5 separate regions of the Homo sapiens genome follow, and all the other regions are linked to region 5. The links are contacts of gene promoters, found by promoter capture Hi-C in human tissues and cell types (Jung and others, 2019). All regions are on one chromosome and are shown on one strand. Each heading gives the region's core, a stretch centred on a gene start or on the middle of the fragment in contact. The rest is flanking DNA. Distances are from core to core; before and after follow the strand shown. Region 1 overlaps ASCC2 (activating signal cointegrator 1 complex subunit 2). Region 2 holds the start of SF3A1 (splicing factor 3a subunit 1). Region 3 holds the start of MTFP1 (mitochondrial fission process 1). Region 4 holds the start of PES1 (pescadillo ribosomal biogenesis factor 1). Region 5 holds the start of HORMAD2 (HORMA domain containing 2).

Region 1 (3,223 bases), core at 724-3,223, 280 kb before region 5:
GTTCTCTACTTGGATGTTGTACTCTTTACCATGACATCCAACTCTCTGTCCCTCTGATGGGTCATCATTCCAACGCTGGGTGAACTCTCTTATTTTTTTTTCTTGAGACAGGTTCTTACTGTGTCACCCAGGCTGGAGTACAGTGGCACGATCACAGCTCATTGCAGCCTTGACCTCCTGGGCTTAAGTGATCTTACTGCCTCAGCCTCCAGAGTAGCTGGAACTATAGGCGTGTGCCAGCACACCCGGCTAATTTTTGTATTTTTTGTATATATGGGGTTTCGCTATGTTGCCCAGGCTGGTCTCGAACTCCTGGACTCAAGTGATCCACCTGCCTTGGCCTCCCAAAGTGCTGGGACTAGGCATGAGCCGCTGCACCCAGCCCTGATCTTTTCAAAACATAAAATATGCTGGCTTTGTCGGTTCATGGGACCCTTTGCTGTGCTCACTATGGCCTCGGGACCACTGTCCCTGTTGCTCTGCTTGGGAAGCTTCTCCTTCCCTCCTTTGCAGAAGTGACCCCTCCTCACCCTTTAGCTCTCGGTCCCATGTCATGTTCTCAGAGGAGCCTTCTTGACTGGGGTGAAGCCCTACCAAAGGCTCAGAATTCTGTGCACCTCCAGCTTGTAGTATTTGTTATACCTGCAATTTGATGTTGCTTGTTTGATGAGTTGATTAATGCAAACTCCACGTGGGCAGGGGCCGTGTCTGTTTCACTCCCCACTATATCCCCAGAACCTAATTAATCCAGAGCCTAGAATGCTGTAAGTATTAGACAAATATTTGTTGAATAAATGGATAAATCATGAACGGAATTTTCAATGCCAAAAAAGTAGGAAGGACATAAACTAAAAATAAATAGAAAGGCCTTAAAGTGGAATATGTTCACCTTCTGAAAAGCTCATTCAAAGTCCTTAATTTTCTCACAGCCTGGGGAAAATCAGGTCAAAGAGTGGTTTCTGGGAAGCACTGTCCACCAGTGATTTGATGGTTAACACATTAAAAGATGTAAGAAGAAGGGAAGAGGGGGATAGTTTTGGCCCTTCTGGCCTTTTGCTATCAACAGGGGGGATTCACTAACAGCCTCCCTGCACAGAGTCAGAACCTGAAGCCTGATCAGTAGAGAACCTGCTCCTAACCACTGGGGGTGCACAGGTCTAGGGTTGTGAAGGGATCCCTGTGCTGATACTCCATGGCCAATTCTGCGAAGATGGAGCCCTTGGTTTCCCTGTGTCCTCTCTGCACTTCCAGAGTTGGGGTATCGGAACCCCATGGCCCACTGCACTCACCTCTTGCCCTTGTGCACCCGGCTCAGGTCTACTGAGTCCCTGCTGAACACATCAAACTCGTCATTCTGGAAGACGTTGTGGCGAGACGTCAGCAGGGGTGTAGGGTCTGGTTTCATTTCTCTGGGTGGGGGACACAGAGATCAATTTAAGGGGGCCCTGCCAGCTGATGCAATCTGCACCCCACTTCCCCCTGCTGTATTAAATCCATCGGATTTTTCAGTTCCCTTCAACAGGCACTCCTAGGACACAATCTCAAAACCTTGAAGAGGGAGATAAGCTGCTGCCTGATCTGGCCTCTGCCTGGGTATGCAGCCACACCTCAAACAAAGCTCCCCCTCATTCTCTGCATGCCATTCACACAGGGTTTCCTTCTGTTTCTTAAAAGCGCTATCCCACATTTAATGCTCGTAATAGTCGCATAAGATCAGTAGTCACAGATCACTCAACCTCATTGTGCCTCAGAGGCTGAGGAACTTGTCCAAAGGCACAAAGCTAATTTCTCAAGTTAACAAGTGATTGGTAAACATCACTTGCTCATGGAAGAAACACCCTTTCGGGCACTGGTTCCTGCTGTCCCATGGGGCCTTCAGGGCAGCAGTGGGCCAAATAAATGGTAGGTGTGATGAAAGTGAGACGCTGTGGCCATCCTCTCTCACAAATCTACTGGGAAGGTCGTAATGACAGGGGCAGGTCAGGAATGTAGGGGATCAGAAGGGCTCAACAACCCTGTGTTACATCCCTGAAGACACATCCATGGCGCTCTAATCAGCCTTCCCACAAAGTGTGGCAGGGATGTGTACACTCTCTGCCCTGCCTGGGGCAAGTGAAAAACTCCTGCGGGGCCTAAGGTTTTTATGTTTCCCCAAAGAGGGCTTTAGTTTAAATGGCTGGGAAGAGAGAACAAGCTGAGTCCTGGGCCATGAATGAGGGAAGGAAGAGAGGAAGGGGCCCCACCCCGAGGCAGCCTGGGCAGCGGGAGCCTCCTCCCACCTGTCTCTCCCACCTGTCTAGGTTGCGGTCCAGCTGGCTGAGGGTGGGGGCCAGCCGCTCCTCCAGGATATTGTTGATCACCTGCTCTGGGTCGTAGTGGTAGTACTCCAGGCAGGCCAGGATGAAGCCCTCACCAAGGTCTGGCAGCAGGTCCTTCACTTGGGAGATGAGAGAGTCCAGTTCCACCCCACACATGGCAGGGCCCACAGCCGCGGCTGCTCCCATGCACTGTAGTGAGAGCCAGAGCCAAGAAGGGGAAGGCTAAGTGGGCCGGTGATAGGGCCACAGGCCCCAGACAGCACTGGACTAGGCATCAGGGATCTGGTTCAAGTCCTGGGATTACCCCTCCTGCCTGTGGGAACTTTGTCAAGTGACTCAAGTCTCTCTGAGCCTCCATTTCCTTCTCTGTGAAAAAGGGGGCTCGTGATTGTTATGATTATTGCATGCCTGTATCAAAATATCTCATGTAACCTATAAATATATACACCTACTACATATCCAGGAAAATAAACAAAAAAAAAAAATAAAAAAAATTTAAGGCCGGGTACAGTGGCTCATACCTATAATCCCAGCACTTTGGGAGGCTGAGGCAAGAGAATTACTTGAGCTCAGGAGTTAGACCAGCCTGAGCAACACAGCAAGACCCCATCTGTTCAAAAAATTTAAAAAAGTAGCCAGGTGGCCGGGTGTGGTGGCTCATGCCTGTAATCCTAGCACTTTGGGAGGCCGAGACGGGTGGACTGCCTGAGCTCAGGAGTTTGAGACCAGCCTGGGCAACACAGTGAAACCCTGTCTCTACTAAAAAAATTAGCCAGGCGTGGTGGCATGCGCCTGTGGTCCCAGCTACTTAGGAGGCTGAGGTGGGAGGATTACTTGATCCCAGAAGGTCGAGGCTGCAGTGAGCTTGATCAAGCCACTGCACTCCAGCCTGGGTGACAGAGCAA
Region 2 (3,562 bases), core at 808-3,307, 280 kb after region 5:
TTGCTTGAGCCCAAGAATTCAAGGCTGCAGTAAGCTATGACTGCACCACTGCATTCCAGCCTGGGTGACAGAACGACACCCGGTCTCTTAAAAAAAACTTTTATCAAGCTATGAGTAGATCCCAGGTATTTTTCCCAAGCACTTTAAATATATTAACTCTTATAACCTTTAGAAGAAGCCTATAAGATTAAGTACTCTTTTTTTTTTTGAGACAGTCTCTTGCTGTCGCCCAGGCTGGAGTGCAGCGGCATGATCTTGGCTCATTGCAACTTCTGCTTCCCAGGTTCAAGCAATTCTCTCCCGAATAGTGGGGATTACAAACATGCACCACCACACCTGGCTAATTTTTTATTTTTAGTAGAGACAGTTTTGCTATGTTGGCCAGGCTGGTCTCAAACTCCTGACCTCAAGTGATCTGTCTGCCTCGGCCTCCCAAACTGCTGGAATTACAGGCGTGAGCCACTGGACCCGGCCAAGAACTCTTAATATCTCCACATTACAGATGACAAAACTGAGAGATGGAGAGCTTAATGTCCAACTGGCAGAACCAGGATTCTAACACACCACTCTGGCTGAAGAGCCTGCCTACCCCCTCTGCCCTAATCTCGGCCAGGCCTTCAGCCTCTTTGGAATAGCGTGACTGGCCTCCCCTCATAGTGATTCTCCACACGTCTGCCTACCTGAATTTCTGAAACACAAATGTCACTATTTGGCTTAAAACACTCCCTTTTCTTCCCACTGTCTACAAGGAAAAGTTCAAATCCTAAGTAAGAATCGCATCTCCTGCCACTACGCTCCTAAGTCTATGCTTCAACACTTGTTCATTTACTCTTGATCAGAGACACCGTTTGATTCACCTCGGTGTCTTTGCGCATATTATCTGGCTATTACCTTATTTTCCCCCAATGCCTGGGAAAATGCCAGGGACACACGGGCACTTAAATATTTGTGGAAAAGGCATGGCTTCTTCAGTCATGTTCCCCCCCCCCGCCCCCCTTATTCTGAACCCAAAGCAATGATCAGCGTATGTGTTCAATAAATATTTGCTGGATGAATAAAGGATGCTATTTCCCTTCCCTAGTCACCTACCTGGCAAACTCCTATTCCTTCTTCTAAAAGAAATTTACCTCTCACTCTTGTGGGCTTCCCTACCTTAATATCCCTTCTAGCCCAGCAAACAATGTTCATTAGATTTGTACCTGAAACTTCTATCACAGGGCATATCACACCATACTACAATGGTTTGTGCACATTCGAGATTGGAGAGCTTTATTAAGGGCGGGCTGGCACTGTATCATCGATGGCCATTGGGACAACAAACATTTGGTGAGCATTCTCATATGTCTGTCTTCTCGTTAGCCTGTGAGCTCCCTAGGCAGGGACCATGCCCCATTCATTCCGGTAATGTGGGAGCCTGGCACGGTGTCTGGCTTGGGGCAGACACCGAAATAGATGCTGAGAATTAACATCCAAAGATGTACCGTGCAGGCTGGGAAATTAGCCATTACTGGGGAAAGGCTGTGGCCGGCGGCCCCAACTGCTACATAAGATCAGAGGATGGGCTGGATCAGCGCCTCTCGCACTTATAAATCAATCACCTTAGGATTTTGTTCAAATGTAGATTCCTATTTAAAAGATCTACGGCGGAGACTCCACATTTCTAAGAAGCTCCCGGCTCGTGCCGACGGGGCTGCTCCGCGGACCACTTAGAGAATCCCGTTCAGGGTGGCTCATTTCGCTACCAGAACACCACCATAGCGCGGGAAGCGCGCAGCCTCTTGGGACTTGCAGTCCCTCCAAGCCCTTCATAGCGGCCGGCCGCTTATTCCTGTGCGAGTAAGGAGCGCCCAGGCCAACCCTCCGGCTGCAGGCTGAGGGGCGGGGGAGAGGTACCTGTTTGGGCTCCGTGGGCACGGGCGGCGGCGGGGGCACCGCCTGCACGGGTCCGGCCGGCATGACTGCGACGCTCAGGGCTGCCAGTCCGCCTCGGTGTCGGTGAGCGGTGCCGCCTCAAGACAGCCTCCCCGCTCGGTCAGTACGACGAGCTCGCAAGATGGCGGCGGCCGAGCGAGTTGCGGCCGCGAAGGTACGACTGGCGCACTTCCGGGACCGTCCCCTCGCCGTGACGCGCTTCCCGCCCCTCCCCGCGGGCACCGCGGCGTCCGACGCCGTTGCCAAGGCAGCGGCCTGAGCGCCCGGCTAGGGCTTTTCGGGGATCCCGGTGGCCGCAGGCGCACCGGGGGCAGTTCCGGGAGCCGACCAGACACGAAGGCTGAAGCCGCGACGCCGAAGACAGGTGAGATGTTGTACGTCACCCGCCGGACCCCCGCCGCACTCACCTCGCGGCTCCTTTACTCCACAGGCCAGTACCTCGCTCCCTTCGACCCCGCCTTCCAAGAGCCCAGCTCCCTCCCATTGGTCTCTCATTTAGGAGAGCCCCTGTCCCCTCAGGCTCACCGCCTAAGAGCCCCACTTCCCTACTCCCTTAGTCCCCCCTTTCATTTCAGACCCACATCCTCCAAGCCCCGCTTCCAAATCCTACGCCCTTAATTCGCTTTTCCCACGGAACCTGCCTTTTCTTGCTTCCATCCCCTGCCTTCCGTAGTCCCGCCCTCAAGCCCCACTGGGGGCCTCCCTCTCAAATCAAGGCTGCTGCTTTCTTTGTCTTTCTTTTTTCTTTTTTTCTGAGACAAGGTCTTGCTCTGTCACCCAGGCTGGAGTGCAGTGGCGCGATCTTGACTCTCTGCAACCTCCGCCTCCCGAGTTCAAGCGATTCTCCTGCCTCAGCCTCCCGAGTGGCTGGGACTACAGGCGCCCACCACACCCGGCTAATTTTTTTTTTTTTTTTTTTGGCATTTTTAGTAGAGACGGGGTTTCACCATGCTGGCCAGGCTGGTCTGGAACTCCTGACCTCAAATGATCCGCCCGCCTCGGCTTCCCAAAGTGTTAGGGTTACAGGCGTGAGCCACCGCGCCCGGCCAGTTTTTAAATTTTTTTTTTTGTAGGGACATGGGAGGACGTCTCCCTATGTTGCCCAGGCTGGTCTCAAACTCCTGGGGTCAAGCGATCCTCCCGCCTTGGCCTCCCAAAGTGCTGGGATTACACGCATGAGCCATCACGCAGGGCTGCTGCTTTAGGCTTCACCCCTCACTCTCACAGATGCAGCCCTGCAAGCTATGCGGCTCGCTCCCCAGAGGCCTACCTCGAATCCCGCCGGCTTCTCTCCCTCTCCTGCGATTCCCCCCTCTCTCCTTCCTCCTCTCCTCAACTCTGGAAAGCGGGGAGCTGGCTCCGAACCTGTTCCTGGACTTCAGTTTCCTCACCTGTGAAATGAGGGAGTGATAGGAAAGGTTGCTCTCTCAAGTCTTCCCCCTCCCCCCACACACATCGTAGCTGTGTGTCATGGTTGTTATTAATGTAGAATAATGATAGCTGGGATGTATTGGTCATTTACTATGAGCCGGATACTGTGCCCAACACTTCATGTGTTACGTCATTTATTCCTTATAGCAACCTATTTACAAATGAGGACAGTGAAGTTTGGAGTTGGTAGAGTGGGAAT
Region 3 (3,306 bases), core at 334-2,833, 350 kb after region 5:
CTGCGGAGCTAGCACTGGGCCCAGAATGAGAGGGAGGCGGAGGAGCAGCGATCACGTGGTTTTAGGGACTGTCTAATAATTCCACGCCAGCATTGCCGGTGTTTCAGGGGGTGGGAACCGCTGCGTTCCCCATCAACTTTTCTCCCACCCACCACCCTCCCCAACCTACAAGCCCAGCTCAGCTTGAGGTAACTGCTGACCGGACTGTCCTATACAGCCCTACAAGACAGAGGCGCCTAGGGCTGAAAGCGGGGGCCTCCGTAGGGAGCCAGCGGGGGCCTCAATAGTTACTCATTTTCTCTACCTTTGATGAAAATAAGAGCTAATTCTTAATAAGGCCTACCGGGTATCACGCAAAAACCCTGTGCTTACTATTACACTTTGGGTTGTTGCAAAGATTAAAGGAAATAAGCCGTGCAAAGCGCTTAAGAGCTTGGTATAAGTAAGTGCTCGTCAATGTTGGCTACTCTCATTTTTTTTGCAGACGTGGGAACTGGGGCTCAGGGAGGCTAACAGCCAGTAGGCGGCACAGCTAGGATTTGAACCCAGGATTGTCTCCAACGCCGCTCAATTATACCCGCCAAGGAGTCACAGAGACTTAGTGAAGTGCACACATTGCTCACCTGGGTGAACTGAGGTCCAGCGGGGGAAGGCTTCCTCCTGTTGTAATCACTAACCCCAACTCTGTCTCCCTTGCCCGATTCATTCATTCGTTAATTAATTCATCCAACATCCTGTCCCCAAGAAGCTCAGTCTGGGGACATACTGATCCAGTTAAATGCGAGTGCTTCCTAGTTATACATGGCGACTGCTGAGAAGGGACTCCAGAGTCCAGGCACCTACCTCCCAGGGGCTCACCGTTCACTCCTCTAGCCTCATTTAGAGCTCGCATTAAGAGCACGGGATCTGGATCCACACTGTTTGGATTCAAATCACAACTTCACCACTTAGCAGCTGTGTGTTCTGGGAAAATGACCCACCTTCTCTGTGCCTCCATTTTCTCACCTGTAAAACGGGCTCCCAGGCTGGTGGGAGGGTTTCAGGTGTAAGACATGGAGAGTCCTTTAGCGAACATGTAGACTGGCAATAAACTCAATAAATGGTGACTGTTATAATTAATCCTCGGAACCATCCTAGGGAGTGGACACTATTGTGTTCCCCATTTTATTTATTACATTAATTTTTTTTTTTTTTTTTTAGTAGAGACGAGGTCTCGCTATGTTGTCCAGGCTGTTCTCGAACCCTTGGGCTCAAGAGATCTTCCCGCCTCCGGCCTCCCAAAGTGCTGGGATCACAGGCGTGAGCCAACGGGCCCAGCCTGTGTCCCTCCCTCGTTTTTACAAATGAATAAAGAGATGCTGGATAAGCCCGAGGTCACAAGCTTTGCAGTGTAGCATCCCCCAACTTGATCCCCTGTCTCTTTGGCTCCAAAACCTACACTCAGTCCTGGGAGCGATTAGCGCCAACAGCTCAGAGAAAACGTGACGAAAACCAGTCTGTAAAACCCGAGCCTGGGAGAGGGGCTTCGGTGCGCGGGGGGAATTTGCAGACGCTCCCTGCTGGCGGAGATTTCCTGACCTGTCCTTCGGCGCGGGACTTTCGGCGGGTCCCGGCCGGGCAGACCCAAGTGCCGGCGGCGGAGACTGCAGTGGAGCCAGTACCGGCTGTAGTGGCCGGGGCCGTGGCGGGAGAGTCATGTCAGAGCCGCAGCCGCGGGGCGCAGAGCGCGATCTCTACCGGGACACGTGGGTGCGATACCTGGGTGAGCGCGGGGCGACGGGCGCGGCGACCCCACCACCACTGGGCTGGAGAAGCAGGGGTCGCCGGACGCCCGCCCGGGGCCTGGAGGAGGCGGGATGATCTTAGTTCTCATTCTGCTTTTGGGCCGGAGACTGGGCTCAGACAGGGCTAGGGACTTGCCCAAGGTCACACTACCCTGGTGGGTCGCCCAGGGCGGAAGCTCCCATGGGGTGAGCGGGCTGCCCGCTCTGGCATGCGCTCTGGCTGGCTGTGGAGTCGGGATCTCCACTCCCATTTCGGTCCTGACACGCACTGGCTCTGTCTGAACCTCAGTTTCCTCCTCGGCAAAAAAACAAAAACAAAACAAAAAACAAACGAGATACACACGAGGGCCTCTCTCATTGGGTGGTGGTTGCGAGGGTGGAATGGGATAAAGCGCAGAAAGCCCTGGCACTTGGCGAGCGTCTGGTCAGTGGCGCTGCCCTCGATCACTCTGCCCCTCTGGGTGCCTGTCACCTCATTAGTGCAGTTACTCCTGGGACCAAGACCAGGAAATCTAACCAATAAGCAATGGTAACAGTGACTCAGTGCTCAGTCCGCCCTCAGTGGCCCGAGTCCGAGGTGGGCATCATGGCACCAGTTTACATCTCGGAAAGGGAGGCTCAGAGAGGTCAAGTCACTTGCCTAAGGTCACCCAGGGACTGCTTAGCTGGCTAGGATGAGAACCAGCCTGCTCCAACGCCCCCTCGTGGAACAGTTGCGAGCCTAGGAATTAAATGTTCCCTCCCCCAGGCTATGCCAATGAGGTGGGCGAGGCTTTCCGCTCTCTTGTGCCAGCGGCGGTGGTGTGGCTGAGCTATGGCGTGGCCAGCTCCTACGTGCTGGCGGATGCCATTGACAAAGGCAAGAAGGCTGGAGAGGTGAGTGTTAGCCTATTTTCCAACCCCCAACCCTAGCTCTCTTCTTGTGTGGTTCAGTCCACAGCCTTGCATGTGATAAAGTCCCTGTGGGACACTCCAGTCCCTACAACCTTGCCTAGTGCAGTCCATAGACAGTCCTGTTTGTAGGACAGTGTACCCCTGCCCCCACACTCCCACTCCCCGAACTGGATGTGGCAGACTGTACCCCACTCCTGGGTGCGGACAAGTCCACTGGCCACTTGCCCCTCCCGGTCTAGCCTCGTGCCCCTTGTCGCAGGATTTTCTGCCTCTGCCCCAGCTGGATTAAGTGTCTCTGCGCCCACCAGGTGCCCAGCCCTGAAGCAGGCCGCAGCGCCAGGGTGACTGTGGCTGTGGTGGACACCTTTGTATGGCAGGCTCTAGCCTCTGTGGCCATTCCGGGCTTCACCATCAACCGCGTGTGTGCTGCCTCTCTCTATGTCCTGGGCACTGCCACCCGCTGGCCCCTGGCTGTCCGCAAGTGGACCACCACCGCGCTTGGGCTGTTGACCATCCCCATCATTATCCACCCCATTGACAGGTGGGTACCTTCTTGGCCTCAGGGATCATCCACTCTCCAGTGATGAGAGTGGATCATCCAGTCTCCAGGTAGAGCTAGACTCTGTGA
Region 4 (3,362 bases), core at 83-2,582, 510 kb after region 5:
ACCTTATGCCACACTTATCTCTGTCACCATGCTTATCCTTATAAATGTTAAGGGAATAAATAGTTCTCAATGGGGTACTCCCTGGGTATGTGCTGGGGGGAGGAGAGTTCAGCAATGTTTGGAGACATTTTTGGTTGCTGGGTGCTACTGGTATCCAGTAGGTAAAGGATCAGGGATGTTGCCAAATATCCTACTACACACAAGACAATCCTTCCCACAACAAAGACTCATCTTTGTTGATTCTGGCTCTGAAACCCAGCTTTTAAAAACTGTAACGATTTTGTTACATATCTACATCTGCAACTCAAGGGCAGGTTTTCCATCTTGTATCTTTGCAGTTCCGATGGCTAGCACTGGATACTCAATGTAGTGTGTTGGGTTAAGAACACTGGCAATAGAAACTTTCACTCTGAAAGAAACACTTAAGCCAACTATATATTCCTCATTCCCATTCCCTTCCCAGTCTTTTCATGTCACTGGGCCGATTCTCCATACAGCCACAAGAACTCCCTGAAAAACTCTAATCGTGTTACTCCTCCTTTTTTTCCTACTGCACGTAGAATAAAATCCAAGCTCTACACTATTCCTACTGCACTTAGAATAAAATCCAAGCTTACAGGCCTTGCACGATACAGTACGTGTCCAACCCCAATCTTATCAGATGCCATTCTTTTCTTGGTTTACATGCGAGTCATCCTAATGTCCTTCCAACTCCTTACACACAGCAAGCCTTCCCTGCCTACTGATCTTGGCACTTGGTTTCCCTTGTCAGGCCTGCTCGCTAAGCACTCCCATGCCCCAGAACCCATCCAAGACGTTCTGATCTTTCCCATTTCAGCCGAAATGTTATGCCTCGAAGAGAACTTCCAAGACAACACTAACCAACTAATGTAACGGTGCAGTAACGGTGAGCTCTACGTAATGTTTATCACCCTTTCGGTAAATAGTGGTCCCACGGCTCGGCCTGCTTTTGGAATGAAGCTACGCTTGGTAAGTTCAACTCTCTTTCACAGCCCTCTCCACAGAAAGAACTCTGGAGTTCGTTCTCGGATTTCACTAAACGAATACTGCCATCCTTGTCCATTCTCGGACCCCTTCTCGCAGCTGATTACGGTCACGTCGATCCCGTCTTTCCAGTCTCCACGAGACGGAGCCCGGGAAAAGAGTCGACCCCATGCTCTGCCGCCCCCGCACCCCACCCCTCGGGAATCCCCACCGTCTTTCCCAATCACCTTCTTCTTCTCAAGGCCTCCCATCGCTCCACGTTGAGGAGCCGACTAGGGCCGCGCGTACAGGGAGCTCCACTTCCTCCCGCACGTGCCCTGCCAAGGACCCCGAGGACCCTCCCCACCCCACGCTGTCTGTTTGTGCGGGCTGCCCAATGAGATGCCTGTACAAGTCCAGGGAAAGATGGGGATTTCCTCCTCAAGATTTAAAACTATAGTCTGAAAAAAATCACTGAGAACACTCTTTCCAGATCTTTCCCGCTCACAATGGTTACAAACACTTTAAGTGTTAAAACAAACGTGGATATACAGGCTTTTCTGTAATCACCCTGATGACGATTCATTGACTGTGAGCCTCGTTGCATGTTGGGACGGAGAGGGGCGGAAGGCTTAGGGACAGCGCGGTGCCTTCTGGGATGCAGAGGGGCGCCGCACTCCATGGTGCGCGATAGGATTGCGTTGTCAAGGTAACGGTTGCTAAGCGTCGTCAGACTTCGGCTGCCGCTGCTGAGAAGCGGTTCCCGAGGGGCAGGGTGAGACTGCGCTGAGTTCCCACCGGCTTCGGGTTCTCTTTGGTTCATTCGCGGTTATGCGGCTAAAATAGAAAAAAGGAAGACATTTTTCCTCGCGGAGGTATAGAGATCCTAGAGGCCACTTATATTTTCTGAGCCTTAGTGGTGGACTCGTGGTATATTTAAAATGTACATTCAAGGCTGGGAGCGGTGGCGCACGCCTGTAATCCCAGCACTTTGGGAGGCCAAGACAGGCGGATCATCTGAGGTCAGGAGTTCGAGACCAGTGTGACCAATATAGTGAAACCCCGTCTCTGCTAAAAATACAAAAATTAGCTGGCCATGGTGGCACACGCCTGTAATCCCAGCTACTCGGGAGGCTGACGCAGGAGAATCGCTTGAACCTGGGAGGCAGAGGTTGCAGTGAGCCGAGATCTTGCCACTGCACTCCAGCCTGGGCGACAGAGTGAGACTCCATCTCAAAAATAAATAAATAAATAAAATTAAATGTACATTCAACATATTCGAGCTTTTAATTTGTACACATAAATTCTGTAAGTGTTCCTCAAATAATAATTCCAAGATTTATACAAATAGTCACATCACCTTGAGATGGTGCAGTCTGGAAGTAGATGCAATTTTAAGAGGTTTTTTTTTTTTTAAACGTTTCTCCCTTTTTCCAAATTCCAAATTTCGTTCGAAGATGATCTCAAAAGTTTAAATTTGAGGCTCTTGTGAATGTGACCTGGCCCAAGGACTTGGTCTTAGAACTTACACAGAGACAGACGTTAAGCACTGGTGAATACTTGTTTTGAACTATGTGACTTGCACTATCTAATTTAAAGCTAAAATTTAAAACCCAGCAATTCCACAGTTAAAAATGAGATGAAGCCGGGCACGGTCGCTCACACCTGTAATCCCAGCACTTTGAGAGGCTGAGGCAGGCGGATCACCTGAGATCAGGAGTTTGAGACCAGCCTGGCCAACATGGCGAAAACCCATCTCTACCAAAAATACAAAAATTAGCCGGGTGTGGTGGCAGGCACCTGTAACCCCAGCTAGTTGGGAGGCTGAGGCAGGAGAATTTATTGAACCCAGGAGGTAGATGTTGCAGTGAGCCAAGATTGTGCCACTGCACTCTGCACTCAAGCCTAGACGACAGAGCGAGGCTCCATCTCAAAAAAAAAAAGAAGAAGAAGGAAAGGGATGGACTGGAGAGGGTGGCAGTGGCTGGCTCATGAGGGCAACACAGGAACAGGGCTGGTGTCGTGAGCATGTGGCCTGGGCAGTCATCTCACCCTGTCCCTCACAAATCACCTAGCTCGTCCTGCACAGATAGAACCATGTTTGCAGAAAGTTGAGCCTTGTTTTGCTCACATTAATGTTGAGGGGTCACTGGAAGACACAGGTGGGGATGTTCAGGGAAGCAATTGTAATTTCAGCTCAAAATAGCCGTCATATAGGTACCACATTTCACAAGGGAGGAAACTAAGTCTCAGGAAAGTAAGTGATCGCTGAAGATCACTCAGCTGCTAAGCTGTGCAGAATAGATTCTCACCAAGCAGTCTGGTTTCAGAGTCCTCTGCTAAACTCACATTCCACTACCTAACGTATAGTAGAAAGA
Region 5 (3,486 bases), core at 848-3,347:
AGGCTGAGGTGGGTGGATTGCTTGAGGTCAGGAGTTCAAGACCAGCCTGGCCAACATGGTGAAACCCCATCTCTACTAAAAATACAAAAATCAGCCGGGCATGGTGATGCATGCCTGTAACCCCAGCTACTTAGGTGGCTGAGGCAGGAGAATCACTTGAGCCTGGGAGGTGGAGGTGGCAGCGAGCCAATATCACGCCACTGCACTCCAGCCTGGGTGACAGAGCAAGACTCTGTCTCACAAAAAAAAAAAAAAAAAAAAAAAAAAAAAATTAGATTGAGAGAAATTCTATGAAAGAAACAGAATAACGAATAACTGTGTTTGCTGGTGGGGTAGACTGCCAATAGTATAGGGCAGAGAGGGGTAAGTCTTTGGATATGGTAGCAGTTGACTGAGCTCAGATCTGAAGGCAGAAGAAAATTAGAACAGCCAGCACAGAGGGCCTAGTGATCCAGCCAGAGAGGCTGGTAAATGCGGAGGCTGAGAAGGGCTGGTGCAGACAAACCATCTGTGTGGTTGGAGCTTAAAAAGCAGTTACTTCCGGAAAGTATAGGGTGAACGCAGTAGTTCTCAACAGAGGGCAATTTTGCACACCCCATGGGACATTTGGCAAAGTCTAGAGAAATTTTTGGTTGTTATGATGGTGGGGGTGGGGAGAAGGTTGAGAAAACTTGCACTAAAAGAATATTTCAGCCCAAATTTCAGTTTTAGTCATTATGTTCTAAACTCATGTTCTCGCCAACTTGAATAGTTTTTTTTTTCTTTCCTGCAGAAACAAAATAAGAACAGGTTTCAAGTGGCTCACTCTTTCATCTACTCTCTTGGGAAATCCCCTTGGGGAGGTTCATGGGACTCCAGGAGCCTTTGGAAAGCACCACAGGATACGAAATATCTACCTAAACAGGTGAGAAACGATCCAAGGAGCCACACCCCCAACTGCTCCCACAGTTACCAGGGCAGAAAAAACTGAGATTAGGGGTAGGGCACAAAGGAGAATATATTTATGTTTTATTTGCATAATTACAAATTAATGTTAAAAAGAATGCAAAGTCAGGTCCAGGGTAGGGATGAAGAGGTTGCAGATGCCCTCAAGTATTGGAAAGCTCTGGCCTTCTGGCCTTATGTCTTTTTTCTTTCTTTTCTTTTTTTTTATTTTTGAGACAGGGTCTCCCTCTGTTGCCCAGGCTGGAGTGCAATGGTACGATCTTGGCTCACTGCAACCTCAAACTCCCCGGCTCAAGCGATCCTCCTACCTCAGCCTCCCGAGCAGCTGGGACTACAGGCGCACGTCAGGTGGCCCAGCTAATTTTTGTACTTTTTAAAATTTTTTTGAGACGGAGTCTCGCTCTGTCGCCCAGGCTGGAGTGCAATGGCGGAATCTCGGCTCACTGCAACCTCAGCCTCCTGGGCTCAAGCGATTCTCGTGCCTCAGCTTCCCAAGTAGCTGGGACTACAGGCGCGCGCCACCACGCCCAGCTAATTTTTGTATTTTTTGTAGAGACGGGTTTTCAACATGTTGGCCAGGCTGGTCTCGAATTCCTGACCTCAAGTGACGCGCCCGCCTCAGCCTCCCAGAGTGCTGGGATCCCAGGTGGAGCCACCGCGCCGCACTTCTCGGGCCTTCTTCTAACTCGGGTCCCTGGGCCCCCCAGGCTCTCGCTTCCCTCCCCTACGCCGCCCCGCGCCCGCCTCAGACCTCTCTGGGACCCGCCGGCCTGGCGTCCTGGCCCGCCCGAGCCCCACGGTCCCTCGGGTCCTAACCTCGGCGGGGCAGGCACCTCCTCAGGAAGCCCCGGAGCAGGCTGTCGTTGTATAGGTGGCCCAGGCTGGCGGCCCCTGACCGAAGGTCGCGTCGGGTCAGTGTGCAGCCCGTGGCTGAGAGGCGGCTGCTGAGGGGCCGGGCGGGCTAGGGGCCGGCTAGCCGCCGTTCGCCCCTGCTTTGCATATTCATGAAGTCTAGCGAGGCCGGTCGCCCAGGCTAGCCGTGGACGGGTCATGAATTATTCATGAGGAAACCTCTGGTCCCGCCCAGAAAGGCCTCGTTGACTATTCATGAGCCGAGGAGCGGGTTTGGGCCGGAAAAGGCCGTTGACCCCCGGTGGGAGGGAAGCGTCGACGAGCTGAGGTGAGGGCTGTTGAGACGCGAGGTCTCGGCCCAGAGAGGGCACTCGGGCGTTGTTAGTTCTGTCTTTATGTCAAAAAACAATTTTTTTTTCTTTTCTTATTACTTAAGGCTTTAAGTTGGATTTGAAAGTATCATATTTCGTGAGGGCCTAAAGTACTGTGAAGAGAATCGGGAGGGCAGGGGGCTGAGGAGGAAGGCAAAAGGGAGGCGATTTCCCCCAGAACTGGACAGAGAGCACCCAGGTAGTTTTGAAATTCAGATTTTTCTGGACATGAAATCAAACTTGCTGAGCAAGCAGCAGCCATAATGAGCCATGATGAGGCTGGCAGGGCAGACGATGTCTGTGCCCGACATTGGAGGGGGCCGTGTGTGGTGGAGCTTTGGGGAAGTTTATCTTACCTGGGTCAGATTCTCCCCAGCCATTGAGGTTTTCTGCCAGGATCGATGCCTGGTACAGGCCAAGAGGTGAGAGAGGTGGGGACAAGACACCCCGCCCCCCTTGACCTCAGCTCCCCTTTCACTTTAGTGAGGATTTGCCAATTAATCCCTATGGACTTTAGTTCCCTAAACAGAGGGAGAGAGTCTTGAACCTCAGGATTAGCCAATCGCCAAAATGTGTCCGAGTACGCAGGGCACTGGACAGGCTGTGCAGTACATCGTGTACTCAGCTGGTAGAAATGAGGGGTGGTTCTGGCCCCTAAAGGGGTTTTTAATCTCAGCAGGATCATAATCTAATTTCTCCTCCATTGGACCATCAATCTGTTGAGGTAGGAACAGTATTTTACATCTCGTAATCCTGCATGTTGTTGCCTGGCACATTGTAGTTGCCTCGTAGATGTTGAATGAATGAATAATTGAAATAGCATGAAAAAGATATTAAAAAGTCAAAAGAGCATGAACAAATACTCAATTAATATAGTGGAAGCCATTTTCTCTGAATGAGCACAGGTAGGGGAATTACCAGGGCCAAATGGAATTTGTTAAAATGGTGAATAATTTATTGAAGCAAGCTCTGTTGGAAGGTCTAAGTAATTGGGCGAACTTTGGCAAACCAAGTTCCCTTGCTTAGCCTCACTTTCCTTTTCTTTTTTCTTTTTTTTTTGTGAGATGGAGTCGAGCTCTGTGCCAGGCTGGAGTGCAGTGACGCAATCTCAGCTCACTGCAACCTCCACCTCTCGGGTTCAAGCGATTCCCCTGCCTCAGCCTCCCATGTAGCTGGGACTACAGGTGTGCACCACCACGCCCAGCTAAATTTTTTTATTTTTTTTTATTTTTAGTAGAGACAGGGTTTCACCATGTTGGCCAGGATAGTCTCGATCTCTTGACCTCGTGATCCTCCCACCTCGGCCTCCCAGAGTGCT

Evidence for each region. Contacts are between HindIII fragments. The study calls those that stand out against the background at their distance.
Region 1: a contact is called between a fragment that was not itself captured here and the fragment with the promoter of HORMAD2 in region 5, in 2 of the 25 tissues and cell types used here (liver and spleen).
Region 2: the fragment with the promoter of SF3A1 here is called in contact with the fragment with the promoter of HORMAD2 in region 5 in 4 of the 25 tissues and cell types used here (IMR-90 fibroblasts, hippocampus, lymphoblastoid cells and 1 more).
Region 3: the fragment with the promoter of MTFP1 here is called in contact with the fragment with the promoter of HORMAD2 in region 5 in 1 of the 25 tissues and cell types used here (mesenchymal stem cells).
Region 4: a contact is called between the fragment with the promoter of PES1 here and the fragment with the promoter of HORMAD2 in region 5, in 2 of the 25 tissues and cell types used here (adrenal gland and heart left ventricle).

What each region holds. Positions count from the first base shown.
Region 1 is chr22:29,799,702-29,802,924 of GRCh38, forward strand. It overlaps ASCC2 (activating signal cointegrator 1 complex subunit 2), which reads right to left. Exons shown (of 20, transcript NM_032204.5): 14 at 2,293-2,507; 15 at 1,290-1,409. Among named protein-coding and RNA genes, the nearest start is that of UQCR10, 34 kb to the left of the region's middle. RefSeq lists an enhancer at 881-1,876. The HindIII fragment of the contact is 7,164 bases long and covers 1-3,223 here.
Region 2 is chr22:30,354,837-30,358,398 of GRCh38, forward strand. It overlaps SF3A1 (splicing factor 3a subunit 1), which reads right to left and starts at 2,058. Exons shown (of 16, transcript NM_005877.6): 1 at 1,894-2,058. The coding sequence starts at 1,956. CCDC157 (coiled-coil domain containing 157) reads left to right here and starts at 2,171. Exons shown (of 12, transcript NM_001017437.5): 1 at 2,171-2,296. RefSeq lists a silencer at 1,755-2,004 and an enhancer at 2,940-3,539. The HindIII fragment of the contact is 21,616 bases long and covers 1-3,562 here.
Region 3 is chr22:30,424,185-30,427,490 of GRCh38, forward strand. MTFP1 (mitochondrial fission process 1) reads left to right here and starts at 1,584. Exons shown (of 4, transcript NM_016498.5): 1 at 1,584-1,762; 2 at 2,533-2,660; 3 at 2,987-3,219. The coding sequence starts at 1,696. It overlaps SEC14L2 (SEC14 like lipid binding 2), which reads left to right. Exons shown (of 12, transcript NM_012429.5): 12 at 1-1,119. RefSeq lists a silencer at 117-226 and enhancers at 1,844-2,402, 2,403-2,963. The HindIII fragment of the contact is 6,033 bases long and covers 1-2,596 here.
Region 4 is chr22:30,590,578-30,593,939 of GRCh38, forward strand. PES1 (pescadillo ribosomal biogenesis factor 1) reads right to left here and starts at 1,333. Exons shown (of 15, transcript NM_014303.4): 1 at 1,233-1,333. The coding sequence starts at 1,256. RefSeq lists enhancers at 1,161-1,876, 1,356-1,655, 1,876-1,955. The HindIII fragment of the contact is 28,649 bases long and covers 1-3,362 here.
Region 5 is chr22:30,078,367-30,081,852 of GRCh38, forward strand. It overlaps HORMAD2 (HORMA domain containing 2), which reads left to right and starts at 2,098. Exons shown (of 11, transcript NM_152510.4): 1 at 2,098-2,125. It overlaps HORMAD2-AS1 (HORMAD2 and MTMR3 antisense RNA 1), which reads right to left and starts at 1,891. Exons shown (of 5, transcript NR_110541.2): 1 at 1,762-1,891. RefSeq lists silencers at 130-249, 1,699-1,748 and enhancers at 300-379, 1,554-2,251, 2,089-2,168. The HindIII fragment of the contact is 22,926 bases long and covers 1-3,486 here.